Linked DNA regions of Homo sapiens: all the other regions are linked to region 1. The links are contacts of gene promoters, found by promoter capture Hi-C in human tissues and cell types (Jung and others, 2019). All regions are on one chromosome and are shown on one strand. Each heading gives the region's core, a stretch centred on a gene start or on the middle of the fragment in contact. The rest is flanking DNA. Distances are from core to core; before and after follow the strand shown. Region 1 holds the start of ID4 (inhibitor of DNA binding 4). Region 2 has its middle 250 kb from the start of LNC-LBCS. Region 3 has its middle 330 kb from the start of LNC-LBCS. Region 4 has its middle 360 kb from the start of LNC-LBCS.

Region 1 (3,636 bases), core at 1,122-3,621:
GGATCACATCTTTCCTGGGTATTCTTGATCTTGTGGCTGAGGTACATTCCTTTGAAACCACCTCTTCCACCCCACCCCACACAGAGTAACTCAGTCTTTCTAACTTTAAGCCAGTCACACAGAGCATCTCCAACAAAACCTGAAACTTAGGCATTTGGCGCTTGTCACACCCAAGGCATGGCTTTCTGAGATTTAGCAAATTCCAAAAAGGTCGATATGATTCTTCCTTTGTGTTACGTATTCAAAACTTAAATTTTAATTTTAATCGTTAGGATATGTAAAATGTTTAAATGTAAGTGTGTCCTGGGCATATTAGCATAGTTTTATTTTGCCAAACAGAGGAAAGTCTTGGGTTTTGAATTTGGAAGCAAATTTTAAACTCTAGGAAAGAGAAAGATCAATGGAACAAAACATCTGTACATATATCCATTTATTATTATCGTCTGTGCTCATATGACTGGCTCCAAGATAATAGCTTACAACCAGTAGTGCTGGCTTCACCGACTTCCCATTTAAAATTACAACATTTTCTCTGTATTTGCATTAATTTAATGATGTATATGACTATGCCTGTCTTTAGAAGAAAGCCCTTCTGAGTTTCATAATTCTGATTTTCTCGATTAATGTGTATGTAGACCATCTACGTATGCACATAAATAAATGAGAATGGCACTTGTTTCCAAACAATTATTAGAAGCAGTAACATACAAGGATTAGGGGAGAGGAGGGTTATTGCATCTACCTGTGAAACCAGAATTAAATAGTTGCTCCTCATTTCATCAGGAGAAAGGAATGTGCTCTGGGGAATAGTGCGATAGTCATAAAGCACTGACATAGCTAAACAAAATATCTGCCTGGTGCAGGTATTTCAGTTCTGGGAATGGATGTAGAAAAAGTCCATATAGGGGTAGACAGGAAGAAATGAGGTCCATGTCTCTTTCTTTCAATTATCTATGAAAATGAAGACACCAATCCATGTCATGTACACGAATGAAGAAAATTCTTGGGTTAATTCATCTCCAAGCGTGTCTAAAGGTGGGAGGGTTTGTAGAGTGAAGGCACTCAAAATTCATTTCCCCATTGTCTGAGAATTTTTATGCACCTTTCTCATCTGAAGGGCTCAATTTTTTCTTGAAGGGTACACACAATGCTCCACCAAAGCTCATTGTGCAATTTTATTTTGAACCCTTGAAGGACAGCTTTTCTCTAAGAAATCTAACACAAAAACGCCCTTAATTAACAGGCTTTTTTTTGCAGGGTGGGGCCCAAGCGGGATCCCAGAGACTGGAAGTGTGAATTTTAATGCTTTGCTGTCAAAGGAGGCGACTCTGGACATTCTCATCACCTTATTTAAAGCGGGGTACGCTGACTAATACGTGAAGCTGTGCATTAATGGCCTAAATTAAGTTACAGGTATGAATTTTACATAAAACAGATTAATATTATATGTCATAATGGAATTTTAAATATTCCGTGTCCATGCATTTTTAATCTTTACGTGCTCTAATTGAATGCGCAAGGCAACTGCATTTCTTGAGCCCACTTTTGCATTTAGATGGGGTAAAAGAACCCCCCCCACGTTTTTGTTTTATTTATATTCCCTTCACCAAAAACCTGCATTCGATTCGGCATTCTTTTCCTTCTTTTTTTTTCTACTTTTGCTAAGCTTTAGCATTTTTTAAAAAGAAAACGGAAAGGCTACACATTCCATTCCATCATTATGGTTTCGGCAAATGTGAAAAGGCGAATAATGAAACGGAGGAGGGAAATATAGAACAGAATGAACGTGCCTTCTTGAACAGCGCGTCTTTCTTAAGGCACTGGAATCCCACGGATGGAGTGATGGGTGGCGGAGGGTCCCTGGGCGCCGTGCTATTAGGAGTGGCAGGGTATCCGCGAGCAGGGCCCAGGCGCTCCCTCAGCAGCCTAGTCGGGATAAGGGGGGCGGTGGAGAGTGAATTCCGGCCGCACATTCCCGCAGTTCTTCGCAGGAACTTCGCTCTCTCTTTTCCCCTCCCTTGGGCACACATCAGCCTGGCCCGACTCCCACTCAGCTCTCTTTTCTCAGAACCCCGACCCACAGCGTTGACGGAATGGAGTGCCCTTCCCATTGGCCCGAGCGTCATTCCCCGAGGTGGCACTGCCCGCCTGATTGGCTGGCCACTCCAGACCCCCCGCCCACTCCTCCACTCGGGTAGCCGGACTCCCCGCCCCCCAGCACCGCCCGGAGCCCCCGCCCTCGCCTCTCCCTCCGCGCCCCCGCCCGCGCGCCCAGCGGGCTCCGCTCGGCTCGCGCTGCGACCCGGCCCGCGCGCTGGTCCCGCCCCCGGGGCGCACGGCTCTATAAATACAGCTGCGCGGCGGGCCGGGCGAGAGCGTAGTGGAGGAGGCGCGGTTGTGAGTAGTACCGGGAGTGGGGTGATCCCGGGCTAGGGGAGCGCGGCGGCCGCGATCGGGCTTAGTCGGAGCTCCGAAGGGAGTGACTAGGACACCCGGGTGGGCTACTTTTCTTCCGGTGCTTTTGCTTTTTTTTTCCTTTGGGCTCGGGCTGAGTGTCGCCCACTGAGCAAAGATTCCCTCGTAAAACCCAGAGCGACCCTCCCGTCAATTGTTGGGCTCGGGAGTGTCGCGGTGCCCCGAGCGCGCCGGGCGCGGAGGCAAAGGGAGCGGAGCCGGCCGCGGACGGGGCCCGGAGCTTGCCTGCCTCCCTCGCTCGCCCCAGCGGGTTCGCTCGCGTAGAGCGCAGGGCGCGCGCGATGAAGGCGGTGAGCCCGGTGCGCCCCTCGGGCCGCAAGGCGCCGTCGGGCTGCGGCGGCGGGGAGCTGGCGCTGCGCTGCCTGGCCGAGCACGGCCACAGCCTGGGTGGCTCCGCAGCCGCGGCGGCGGCGGCGGCGGCAGCGCGCTGTAAGGCGGCCGAGGCGGCGGCCGACGAGCCGGCGCTGTGCCTGCAGTGCGATATGAACGACTGCTATAGCCGCCTGCGGAGGCTGGTGCCCACCATCCCGCCCAACAAGAAAGTCAGCAAAGTGGAGATCCTGCAGCACGTTATCGACTACATCCTGGACCTGCAGCTGGCGCTGGAGACGCACCCGGCCCTGCTGAGGCAGCCACCACCGCCCGCGCCGCCACACCACCCGGCCGGGACCTGTCCAGCCGCGCCGCCGCGGACCCCGCTCACTGCGCTCAACACCGACCCGGTGAGAGGCCGGGCGCCGGCCGTGGGCGGACGCCGCGGGGGATGGGAGGTTGGTGGCGTGGTGGCGGGACGCGGGCGCTCACCGTCCTCCGGGCAGGGGCGGGCCAGGAATGACAGCCCCCTCCCCCTGCTCCTCCGGGCTCCCCCGGGCCGCCAGCAGCCGGCCGGGCTCGGCGAGCGCGGGTCCGGGAGAACGCGCAGGGCGGGACTCGGGGCTGTGGGCGCCCTGGGCTGTCAAGTCCCGCCTGAGCCCGGAGGGGCCCCCCCGGCTACAGGCTGGGGTGGGGGCGTCGGCGCGCCAGCCTGATTTCCGAGGACAATCCAGGACCGTGTCGAGCGCGTTGTTTGCGCCTGCTAACCTTTCCCTTGGTGTTCGGTTGCTGTTCCAGGCCGGCGCGGTGAACAAGCAGGGCGACAGCATTCTGTGCCGCTGAGCCGCG
Region 2 (4,060 bases), core at 1,197-3,696, 290 kb before region 1:
TATATAAATATATAATTTCAATTTTATATGTTTGTATCCATTTCCCTCACTATACCATGAACTCCTTGAAGAACAAGCCTCTGTCTTAATTTGTTCTGCACTCTTTACAAGCCAACACAGGACCTGGCACTTGCTCACTGAATCAATGAAAGAAATGAGTGACTACATTTTGCTTAGAAGTCACCCTGCATTGTCTTAGAGATAAAGCTTATCAAGTTGCAAATTCTAAAATACAAGGGGCTTCTACCCCCTTATATAATCTCCTCATGAGAATGGCCAAGTCAGGACAGTTCAGGAAGCTTTTAAATCTGTGCATTAGATGATAGAGAATCCTGTTTTTTGTTTGTTTTTGTTTGATCTTAGTTTTAGTTTTTAATGTGTTGCACTTTTAGGAGACTTAAAAACTAGAAGTTAACATGGCTAACTGGGCACATGAGCCATTTGGCTGTCACCCTTCATGCTTAAATGCAAATCATTGTAGGAATCGCTCTTCTCTGGAATCTGAAATACAGTCATTCGGAGAATTCCAAATAGTGGGGCATGATTTTTCAAAAATATGCTTTTAAGAAAACAGAGTTGACATTTCTTTGCTACAGGAGGAAAGGAGAGAAAAAGAGAAATTCTGCTCTAATTTTGGCCACAGGATGTGCACAGGGGTGTGTGCATCTCTTTATGGGGTGAAGGAGAGCATTAGTAAAGGGTTAGGCAGGCATGCAGACTGTAGAGAAGGCAGACTGTAGAGAAGGCAACTCATGGAGGCTTTTTCTGTTTCTGTGCATTCTGCCCAGCCTTCATTGCCTATGGCTGCTCTTTTTATGAAAATTGGCGCATATTTAACTGCTATAGCTGTTGGCATCTAGGCTTAGTTTTACCCACAGAGGAGGCATTCATTCACGTTTTAGCTATCATTTCCATTAAAGCTTGCAAGTACAAATGGTACCCAATCTAAATGGGTAAGGCATGACCAAATAAATATATCCCCTGAATACCCTAAACATGGGGTATCTAGAAACACAGTGGTGGTACTTATTGAAAGTGACATTAACTACAAACTTAAAATTTTCCTTCCTAAGTATATAGAAAAGCCAAATAATCTTGGGCAGAAGGTAGGGTGTAGGAATTCCATTAAGATATTACATGGAAAAAAAAAGCTTTAGTCCCATTTTGTCTATTTCAAGCTCCATTTTATTCATATTGTAACTTAGAGAATCATTCAGTGAAATAGAGTGGGAGGAAGAATATGGTCTACATTTCCTTGGAACTTTAGATACATTTTTCTTTCCTGTTTTATCTGTGCATGCAGGCGACATCTCCTTAATGAGAGTCTTCAAACTTCTTTGCCTTTTAGAAGTATCTCTGCTGTGCCCTGGGACACCAGTCACTGATTTTAGCTTTTAAATATGCTCATGATATAAAGTAATTTTTTCCTTAGTGCTATTCATTGTTTTACCTGTCTCAATGGGAATTATGAGTTTGATTAATGGGCAGAAAGATTTGGCCCTTGTTAGAGTCCTTATCTCTATTCCTCCCTGCTGCATGCTGCTTCCGACAGTCTCTGAATGCTCAAGAATAATATCTGCAAGTGAAGATTAAAATAAGAGTAAAAATAAAAGTTTATCCATGGATTGTTTATCCATGGTCCTGGCATTAGTGGTGACTGTTTATATTAAAAGAATTCATAAATACATGCATACATTCAGTCATACATTCATGTATTCATTCAACAAACAACAGGCATTGTGCTTGGCACTGAGAAGAGTCTGGAGTGATTTTAGGTTCTACCAAATTAAAACAAGACAGTGGCCATTGAGCTTCACATTATATGATAATGAAAATGGATATGGGAAGGGAAGTAAGCATGGAAGGTCCTATTTGTTCTGTTTTAATTTGGTCGCTAGCTACGTATACTTAATCAAGTAGATAATCAGGAAACACCTGTGTTCAGTGAATTAATAAAAATGTATGACACATACTTCTGATGAAACAAATGACCAATCTTGGAATCCACAGGTGCTACAAAAATAACCACAAATAACCAGGCAACTAGTCCCATCATCACTGGGAGTGCATGCTTTGAGTCAAACATGGATATTTATCACTCGAGTAGCTCTTAAAGGTGAAGTAATGCTTGTGGGTTTACTCATGAGCTCAAGGAATAAGGATTACTTAAAAACACTAAGTATTTAGGTGTGGGAAGTAAAATTAAAACACAAGATTTCAGTGAGAACTTCGACTTGATTTATCTAATGAAGAGAAATGTGCTATTTGGGCAGGTCTACACCTTCATGTGCATGTATGAAACCAGACAAGTTTGAGAATTTCTTTTGTCTTCGGAGTAATCAAGTAAAATAATATTCTATCACTAGAATGGCACTAATACTAACTCTTTGGAAAACAGTGTATTTTTTCTCCACTTGGGCAAAATATGAGTAAGTTAACTAAAATAAGCTGGAAAATATTCCTGACTCGTTCAAATGCAATCTGTGAGCTCCAAAAATAAATAAAGATTGCTCCTAAGAAGTCTAGAACATGATAGGATGCAAAGCAGTGGTAACAGATTAAGTACTCTGATGCTTCCAAACATCTGAATCAGCCTGTTCTGCCTGGTTAACATGAAAATAAGATGTGAGCAAAGATCTTAAATTGTAACTTTTCTCACAGGTCCTCAGATTGGAAATTTTAAAAATACAGTCGATGAAATTTAAGTACTGATCCTTGGCATGTGTGGGAGAGGGTCATTTACAAATGAAACATTTACAAATTAATATTTCATACTTGCTGATGGACGTCAGATGCACTTAATAGCACTGCTATTAAAGGAATAAAGATTATGCTTAATTATAAAATAAATATGTTCTGCTTAATCATACACATGCATAGGTACATACACATACAAAAGACTCATGCACATGCTGTCTCTCTCTCTCTCCTCCCAGCCCCTCACCAACGTCTTATCTAATCCTTAATAAAGAGGAATTCAAGCCCAAATGACAGTAGGTATAAAATTGATTACAAAGCAAAATTTTCAGGTGATGCAGGCTGGGAAGATGTAAATGTTTCGCAGGAATTATGATGTCACTTATGTTTCTGCCCAAAGGAGGGCCCCATTTCAGCTCAATCCCAATCAGGAAGTTATTCTTCACATCAAAGGAACATATTTTATACATGGCTGGGTAGAACACAGAGCATTTAGATGCTAGAGAGCTAGAGCAGAAGGGCCTTATATACTGAGATGAGCAAATTTCTGTGATGATAATTTCTTCCTGGAAAAGGATTTTATCACATGGCCCTGGAAGAGGAAAATACCATCTTCAAAATATTCTTAACAACAGACTTTGAGTAGATGCAAAAGCTGAGACTTGCAATTTTGTGGAAATAGTAATAAACTGACCCCAGCTGGAGAGTGAGAGCTCATGTGAACCTATACCAGCCTAGACAGCTGCAGTCAGCTGAACCTCAGCCTACCTCATATCTGTAAGAATAAATGCTTATGTTTTTTTACTTACTGAGATTTTTATGATTATTTGTTATGCAGCAGTAGCTAACTGATACAGAGAGAATAACTATCTTCAAGTATATGAAGACATTTTCTTTCTTTTCTGGAGATGAGAAAATGCTAGAAAAGATTCAGGTTAAAAATAAGAAAGATTAGTATTGTTAGTACCTTTACATGAGAGTTTCAATTGTGGGAAAGATAAATGCTGAAGCCTTAGCGTCTAGAAAGAACAAATGAAATGATCTTTCTTCCTTCATATGTATTGATTTCAGACATGAAGTCACAGATAAGTTTATAAAAATAGAAATGTCATTTGAAACTCTGCCAGTTTCTAAAAATAGATAAGAAATGTGTCCTTTACAATGAGCTACTCTACCACAATACAGAGGGTCAATCTAGTACTTTTGTTAAGACATATGGTTTATCCTGGTCCTCATTAACTTGAATCTAGTTTCTCAGAACAAATATTGTCTTAAGAAATGACAGAGAGGCTGGGCATGGTGGCTCACGCCTGTTATCCCAGCACTTTGGGAGGCCGAGGTGGGCAGATCATTTGAGGTCAGG
Region 3 (3,628 bases), core at 373-2,872, 370 kb before region 1:
AGACATTTGTTCATAGAAAAAAATGAGTCTTACTATCATATGATTTAAGTATTTAAAAACAAAGTCTAGTAACTTTTAAGGAAATTAAGTAATTTTAGCTTCGAGAGCATCTTTCTCCAAAAGCTAGTTATCTGGGAAATAAAATTGCATAAACCACCATTCTGGATACTTCTTTTGCATGCTTAATTGACTGAAGGATGTAAGATTTTCCCTAAAAAATATGTATATTTACCTTGAATTATCATTTGATGCCTCTTACTCCAGACCTCTCTCTTTTTGAGCATCTGGTCTGTGGTCCTTGGTCTCAATTTTGTTTCTGGATTCTCTGTAGAGACCTGTCACTCAGATTTTCATAGTAAACATACTAATACCTTTTTTTCTCTTTATGAATTATATTTTATAAAAATCTTAAATTTTCTCAAATTTGTCTACCACCCTTCCCTTTTCTTTACCAAGATAGAAAATATGATGAATCCATAGAAACAACATCCACATTAATTATAAATTTATTATTTTCCTCCTTCTCAGGTGAAAAGACAGGCACACAGAAAAGCACCCTTTTAACCTTTACTGCATGCACGACGAGGGTCAAATGCAGAGAGACTATGTACACACATCCAAGGCAAAGGGAGGGAGAGTGAGAGGGAGATAGAGACAGAGACAGAGAGACGGGGGGGAGAGAGAGAGAGAAAAGAGAGAAAGAGAATGAGAACAATGAAGAAAAAGAATGTAGCATACCTACGAACACTAAACCAGAAGTGAAAAAATATGCCATTTAAGAGTGTAAACTCTGAGGTCTGAAGTCCAAAAGAAGGAAGTCCAAGGGGCTTTGACGGTCAGTGAGATCATATCTGTGCTATTACTGAGGGTCCACCTCTAATCAGTTTACGAATGTTTTTCTTTCTCCTGCCTACTCCTGCCCATTCACACACACACACACACACTCTCCCACAGACACACACAGACTCACACATACACACAAATTCACACATACACACACTCACACAGAGATGCATACAGTCACACATATGCACACATTGACAATCACACATATATACGCATACACTCACACATACACACCCTGGCACACACATTTGCACGCTCACAATGCACATTCACACACTAACACATACACACACACATACACAGACACACACACATACACGTTCACACACATACACACATATACACATTCACAGTCACACGTACATACACAAACATACCCCGACTCACACATACACACACATTTGCATGCTCACACATATATACACGTTCACATACACATTCACATATACACAGACTCACACATCCACACACTCCCACACACATACATGCATACACACATTCACACATATGCACATTTACACACACATACACACTCACACATTCGATTCACTCACACACATACATGCATACACACACTCATACATACACACACTCACAAACAGAGGTGACCATTTCAGAGGAGCAGAGTGCACCCCCTGCGCCTGGCCCACTTCTCCCAAGATAGAGAACAATTTGGCATGAGGAAACATTTAGGTCTAAGAGTCTCCTGCTTTGAGAAAATCTATTTTACAAAAATACAACCACACAGCACATATACATGGGAGTATCTGATGACTTCACCCAAGAATCCTTCATATTTTAGAAGGATCTGCCGCAAGATTTTTCTAAGTAGCAAATATCATTAAATCATTTATTTAAAATAACATATAATTTATAAATAAATGTTACAAAAGCAATTCCAACATCATAAATTCAGGCATGGCTCTCCAGATTTTGGAGGTACCTTCACTTTTGAACCATATTTCTTTGTAATTTTATACAAAACTATGAAAAAATAACTCCCATGGGAGTCACACATAGCCTTATAAAGATTCTCAAATGTCGGTTCTGGATAAGTACTTTGGCTCTAATCTGTTATATTTCTCTTCCACTTTCAGCTAGTGTAAAGTTATAAAAGTTTACTCTAAAAACTAAAATAGTTAATAGAGAAAATTTCAAGGAACTTTCATAAGGAACGGCATACATATCTCTACAATAAACCCCTTAATGAATAACGTTATCAGAGTTATTTAGGCTAAAATTAATTAACCTAAATTTTCAAATTGAATCCCAAAAACTGTGGATGCTGCCTTTCGTGTTGGCATGCAAAATTAAGCCTGCATCTGTTTCCATTCAAAAGTTCCATCAATGGGCACTTTCAATTGGCTTGCTCCATAAGTAATTCAGAAGGTGGAACAGCAAAAAGATAAGAGGGTTCATTAAGTGATTAAAGTCACTGGAATTGATAATTTTTTTATATCAAAAGATTTCACAAAGAAAATGCGACTGTAGGGAAGTTTGGATTAATTTTTTTTTTTTTAACCTTGGGGGAAAGGGAGAGAGTACAATTAAATTAAGGGAGGTTCACGAATAGTGTGGAAAGTCAAGATTCTAATTTACATGAAGCTCTTCAGGGCCTCATAGGGGTCATAATAAACATGATTTGGGGGATAATCATTTGACTTGAGTTGACCAGAATTAACTTGCTAGAATAAAGGGAGACTGAGGCTTTCCCAGCTTCCGCTTGGGTGGGGAGCTTGTACCATTATTTGAATGAGTTATGCATAGCCTGAGAGTGCTTTTTGAATTTGACAAAAGGCATCTTCACACAAGTGCCCACCCAGTCAACTTTTCCATGCTTCCAAAGTCTTATAATCACTAGTGAAAGAGAACGCTTCTGCACCAGCACTGCAAGGGATGAGGACAGCACGTGTTCAGGGGAGAGAAGTAGTCAGTGGCTCCTGCACCAAGAGGCAAAGGACAAACATGCACCTCAGCATCTCAATCTTCACCAAACCATGAGAAAATTCTCAGTGCCTCAGAGCTTCCACTTTCTTTTCTTAAAGAAGGCTATCGCTTTACAGATATTTCCTAATGTATTTCTAGGAACCCTTCAGGGGGGTCTATGAGTCATGCATCAGACCTGTCTTTTGCACACATCTGTGGTTGGCCAAGTCAGGGCTCTGCTGCCTTAGAATGCAAGAGTTTCCCAAGGAACCTGGGCTGCACTAGAATTCTTCCCTCACTGCCTGAGGCATTGTCATGACCTTTGAGTAAGTGAAGAGAGACTAGAACGTTATTACCTCTGTATGCGATGAACCTCACCTCATAATACACTCCATGGCCATGGTGAGTCAGAACACCACTGCAGCTTGGCGCTAGTGAGCTTAATGATACAGGTCCATATCACTACTTTTGTAAAATAAGAAGTACATTTCCTCCATTGCAATTAGGAATTAGGATAAGGGAACCAGAAAACACTGGTTTGGGGGCTCAAGCTCCCAAACTTTACAGAAAACTTACTAATAAAATAATTTTGTCCATAGGGTGTAAAATGCTGTTAGAATGGCTGATCCAGAAAAATTTTATTTTTCAGTTGCGACACTGTACCTACTACTATCACTTTCCTCCATTTGGAGAGGGATGGGATGAGATATATATATATTTTTTTTTTTTTCCATATTTCCATCCCTGGGGATAAACTCAGTAGGCTAGAGTATAGAAATAATATTCAATATTTACATTGATATACATTTTTAAAAAATAATATCAACCACACAGAAATTATATGAAAGGAGTTTGG
Region 4 (3,871 bases), core at 889-3,388, 390 kb before region 1:
ACTTTCTTCTGCTTCCTGGTTGTGTGATCATCACTCTGGCCATGTTTCCCTCTCATTCTGCCATGGAGCGTATAAGAGCCCAGATTGGCAAAGACAGAACCAGCACTTGCCCATAATAATTTGGGAAATTCTGTGGCCTCATTCAGAAACCTTCAAACATTCATGGGTTTTGGTAGCCCAGAGGGCGGAGTATAGGAAGGGGCCAAGATTTCTCTGTTTTCCCTGGAAACATGGATGTCTAAATATCAGAAATGGCAATACTGTCTTAATAATACCTCCTGTTCATGGACAAATTCTGTAAATTTTTATTTGTCAGGATAAGTACAGTCTATGAATAATTAATTATTATGCAGTTATTCTTTCCTGTTTTTTTTTTTTTTTTTTCTTTTTCCTTTTCTTCTAACCTAACACTCTCCGCCAGGGAAATCAATCACACTAAACATTTACTAACAGGATCTCCCACTTTGGCTACACATTGGGATCACCTAGAGAGCTTGTTAATATACTGGTAGTTGGGTCCTACTCCTGGAAGTTTTACTTTGATTGGTCTGGGATGGACCTGGGCATCTGGATTTTTTTATATCACCAAGGACCTTTTCTTTAACTTTTATTTTAGGTTCAGGGGTCCAAGTGCAAATTTGAAATACAGGGAAATTGCATGTCACAGGGGTTTGGTGTACAGATTTTATTTTGTCACCCCCTGGTAATAAGCATAATCCCCAATAACCAAGGAGGTGAAAGGCCTCTACAAGGATATTTACAAAACACTATTCAAAGGAATTAAAGATGGCAGGTAGTTTTTCGATCCTTACCCTCCTCCCATGTTCCACCCTCAAGTAGGCCCCAGTGGATGTAGTTCCCTTCTTTGTGTCTATGTGTACTCAAATTTTAGCTCCCACTTATAAGTGAGAACATGCAGTATTTGGTTTTCCGTTCCTGTATTAGTTTGCTTAGGATAATGGCCTCCAGCTCCATCCATGTTGCTGCCAAGGACATGATCTCATTCTTTTTTATGGCTGCATAGTATTCCATGGTATATATGTACCATCTTTTTAAAATCCAGTCTACCATTGATGGGCATTTAGGTTGATTCCATGTCTTTGCTATTGCGAACAGTGCTGCAATGAACATATGTGTGCATGTGTCTTTTTGTGGTAGAATGATTTACATTCTTTTAGGTATATACTCAACAATGGGATTCCTGGGTCCAATAGTAATTCTGTTTTAAGTTCTTTGAGAAATCAACAAACTGCTTTCTACGACAGCTGAACTTTACATTACCACCAGCAGTGTATAAGCATTCCTTTTTCTCTACAACCTCGCCAGCATCTGTTATTTTAATAATCGCCATTCTGACTGATATGAAATTATTTGTATTTCTCTAATAATTAGTGATCTTGAGCATTCTCAACAAACTAGGCATGAAGGAACATACTTCAAAATAATGAGTCATCTATGACAAACCCACAGCCAACCTCATATTGAATGGAAAAAAGCTGGAAGCATTTACCCTGAAAACCAGCTTGAGGCAAGGATGCCCACTCCTGCCACTCCTATCCAACACAGTACTGGAAATACTAACCAGAGCATTCAGGAAAGAGAAAGAAATAAGGGCATCCAAATAGGAAAAGAGAAAGTCAAACTATCCCTGTTTGCGAACAATATGATTCTATGCCTAGAAAGCCCCATAGTCTCAGCTCCCTGATCCGATAAACAACTTCAGCAAAGTTTTAGGATATAAAATCCAGGTACGAAAATCACTAGCATTCCTATACACCAACGTCCAAGCTGACAGCCAAATCAATAATGCAATCCCACTCACAATAACCACAAAAAGAATAAAATACCTAGGAATATAGCTATCCAAGGAGGTGAAAGACCTCTACGACAAGAATTATAAAATACTGCTCAAAGGAATCAGAAATGGCACAAACAAATGCAAAAATATTCCATGCTCACAGATAGGAAGAATCAATATTATTAAAGTGGCCATACTGCCCAAAGCAGTTTACAAATTCAATGCTATTTCTATAAACTATCAATGACATCCTCCAGATAATTAGAAAAAAACTATTTTAAAATTCCAATGGAACAAAAAAAAAAAGAGCCCAAAAGCCAAGCCAATCCTAAGCAAAAAGAACAGAGCTGGAGGCATCACATTATCCCACATCGAACTATACTACAAGACTACAGTCACCAAAACAGCATGGTACTGGTACAAAAACAGACTCATAGACCAATAAAATAGAATAGAGAGTCCAGAAACAAAGCCATACACCTACAGCCATCTGATCTTCAACAAAATTAACAAAAATAAACAATGAGGAAAGACTCCCTATTCAAAAAATGGTTCTGGGATAACTGGCTAGCCATACGCAGAAGACTGAAACTGGATTTCTTTCTTACACCATATACAGAAATCAACTCAAGATGGATTAAAGACTTAAATGTAAAATCTAAAAACTATATTAAAAAAACCCTGAAAGACAACCATTCTGGACATAAGACCTGGCAAAGATTTTATGATGAAGATGCCAAAGCAATTGCAACAAAAATTGACAAATGGGATCTAACTAAATTATAGAGCTTCTGCACAGCAAAGAGTAAACAGACAACCTAAACACAGGAGAAAATATTTGCAAACTATGCATCCAACAAAGGTTTAGTGTCCAGAAGGAACTTAAATTTACAAGCAAAAAAAAATTATTAAAAAGTGGGCAGGAGACATGAACAGACATTTTTCAAAAGAAACATGTATGTGGCCAACAGCATATTTAAGAAAGCACCTGAATTTTAAAAAGCTTTCTAAGTAATTCTACTGCAAAGCCAAGATTGAGAATCACTGTGCTACAGAGAAAATATTCTGTCTGGGAGTGCAACAAGTTTTTTTTTTTTTTTAAGTGAGTAAATCAACATGATCCTGCATTCTATTTCTGAAAAAAAAAAAAAAAAAAAGACACCTATTGCTCTAGGGGTAAATGATGGCCTAGTCACCTTAATTTAGAATTTGCAGCTTTGTTCACTGTTTTACAGTCTCCATGTTATTAATTTTCTGTTTCATAAACCTGACAAACATAATTGTTAATTACATACCTTACACTCCACCCTCACAGCAATGGTTTCTCTCAGAACCCTCATCTGATATAAAGCTATAGTACAATGCCCCACTATATTAAATTTCAATTTAATTATCTTTATTACAGCATCACCTCCTTGGAGGAAATTATTAACTCTGAGATGAGCTTATAATAACAGAGAAAGGTAATGCAGGGAGCCTTGCCCTAAAGCCTTGTGCTATATATAGGCTACAGTTACAGGCTCAAGAGCAACAATAAAATGGTTGAAAAAGAAGCTACTCTGCCATATCCTCGGCTCCCTGTGATGTGATCCCTCAAAGGTCCCTAGTGGCACACACAAAGCGAATGGCATGAGAAATAGGTCACACACACACACACACACACACACACACACACACAAATGCACAAGTCATTTGTGTGTGTGTGCGTGCACACTTTAGTTGAAAGCAGAGAATAATTCGCAAATAATTAGCCCAGGTGAGACCAGGAAGCTGTCCATGGACAGTACACATTCATTACACCATAGTTAATCTTTTAAGAGTTAAACTTTACTTAGCACCATGTACTTTAAAAAAAAAAAAAGCTTAGGGTGTTTTGCCTTAAAACATTACTTGAAGTGACTTTCAATGACTCTCTTTAAACTTGGTTTGAAAATTAAAAGAGCTAGAAGCCAGCAAGCTTCCCAAAAGTAATTAAGTCCCTAAATTAACACTAAGGGGCTTGAATCCCATGCAACTATGGTATTAGGTGACTGAGAAAAAATGAACTAGAAAATGGGATCACAGAGCTTTGAG

The links. The method cuts DNA at HindIII sites, captures the fragments that hold promoters and counts their contacts. A contact is called where the count stands out against the background at its distance.
Region 2: a contact is called between a fragment that was not itself captured here and the fragment with the promoter of ID4 in region 1, in 1 of the 25 tissues and cell types used here (IMR-90 fibroblasts).
Region 3: a fragment that was not itself captured here is called in contact with the fragment with the promoter of ID4 in region 1 in 2 of the 25 tissues and cell types used here (IMR-90 fibroblasts and hippocampus).
Region 4: a contact is called between a fragment that was not itself captured here and the fragment with the promoter of ID4 in region 1, in 2 of the 25 tissues and cell types used here (H1 embryonic stem cells and aorta).

The regions. Positions count from the first base shown.
Region 1 is chr6:19,834,999-19,838,634 of GRCh38, forward strand. ID4 (inhibitor of DNA binding 4) reads left to right here and starts at 2,372. Exons shown (of 3, transcript NM_001546.4): 1 at 2,372-3,197; 2 at 3,586-3,636. The coding sequence starts at 2,757. The coding sequence ends at 3,630. The HindIII fragment of the contact is 7,095 bases long and covers 1-3,636 here.
Region 2 is chr6:19,549,768-19,553,827 of GRCh38, forward strand. No RefSeq gene overlaps it. Among named protein-coding and RNA genes, the nearest start is that of LNC-LBCS, 250 kb to the right of the region's middle. The HindIII fragment of the contact is 5,357 bases long and covers 1-4,060 here.
Region 3 is chr6:19,469,328-19,472,955 of GRCh38, forward strand. No RefSeq gene overlaps it. Among named protein-coding and RNA genes, the nearest start is that of LNC-LBCS, 330 kb to the right of the region's middle. The HindIII fragment of the contact is 8,131 bases long and covers 1-3,628 here.
Region 4 is chr6:19,445,288-19,449,158 of GRCh38, forward strand. No RefSeq gene overlaps it. Among named protein-coding and RNA genes, the nearest start is that of LNC-LBCS, 360 kb to the right of the region's middle. The HindIII fragment of the contact is 3,137 bases long and covers 571-3,707 here.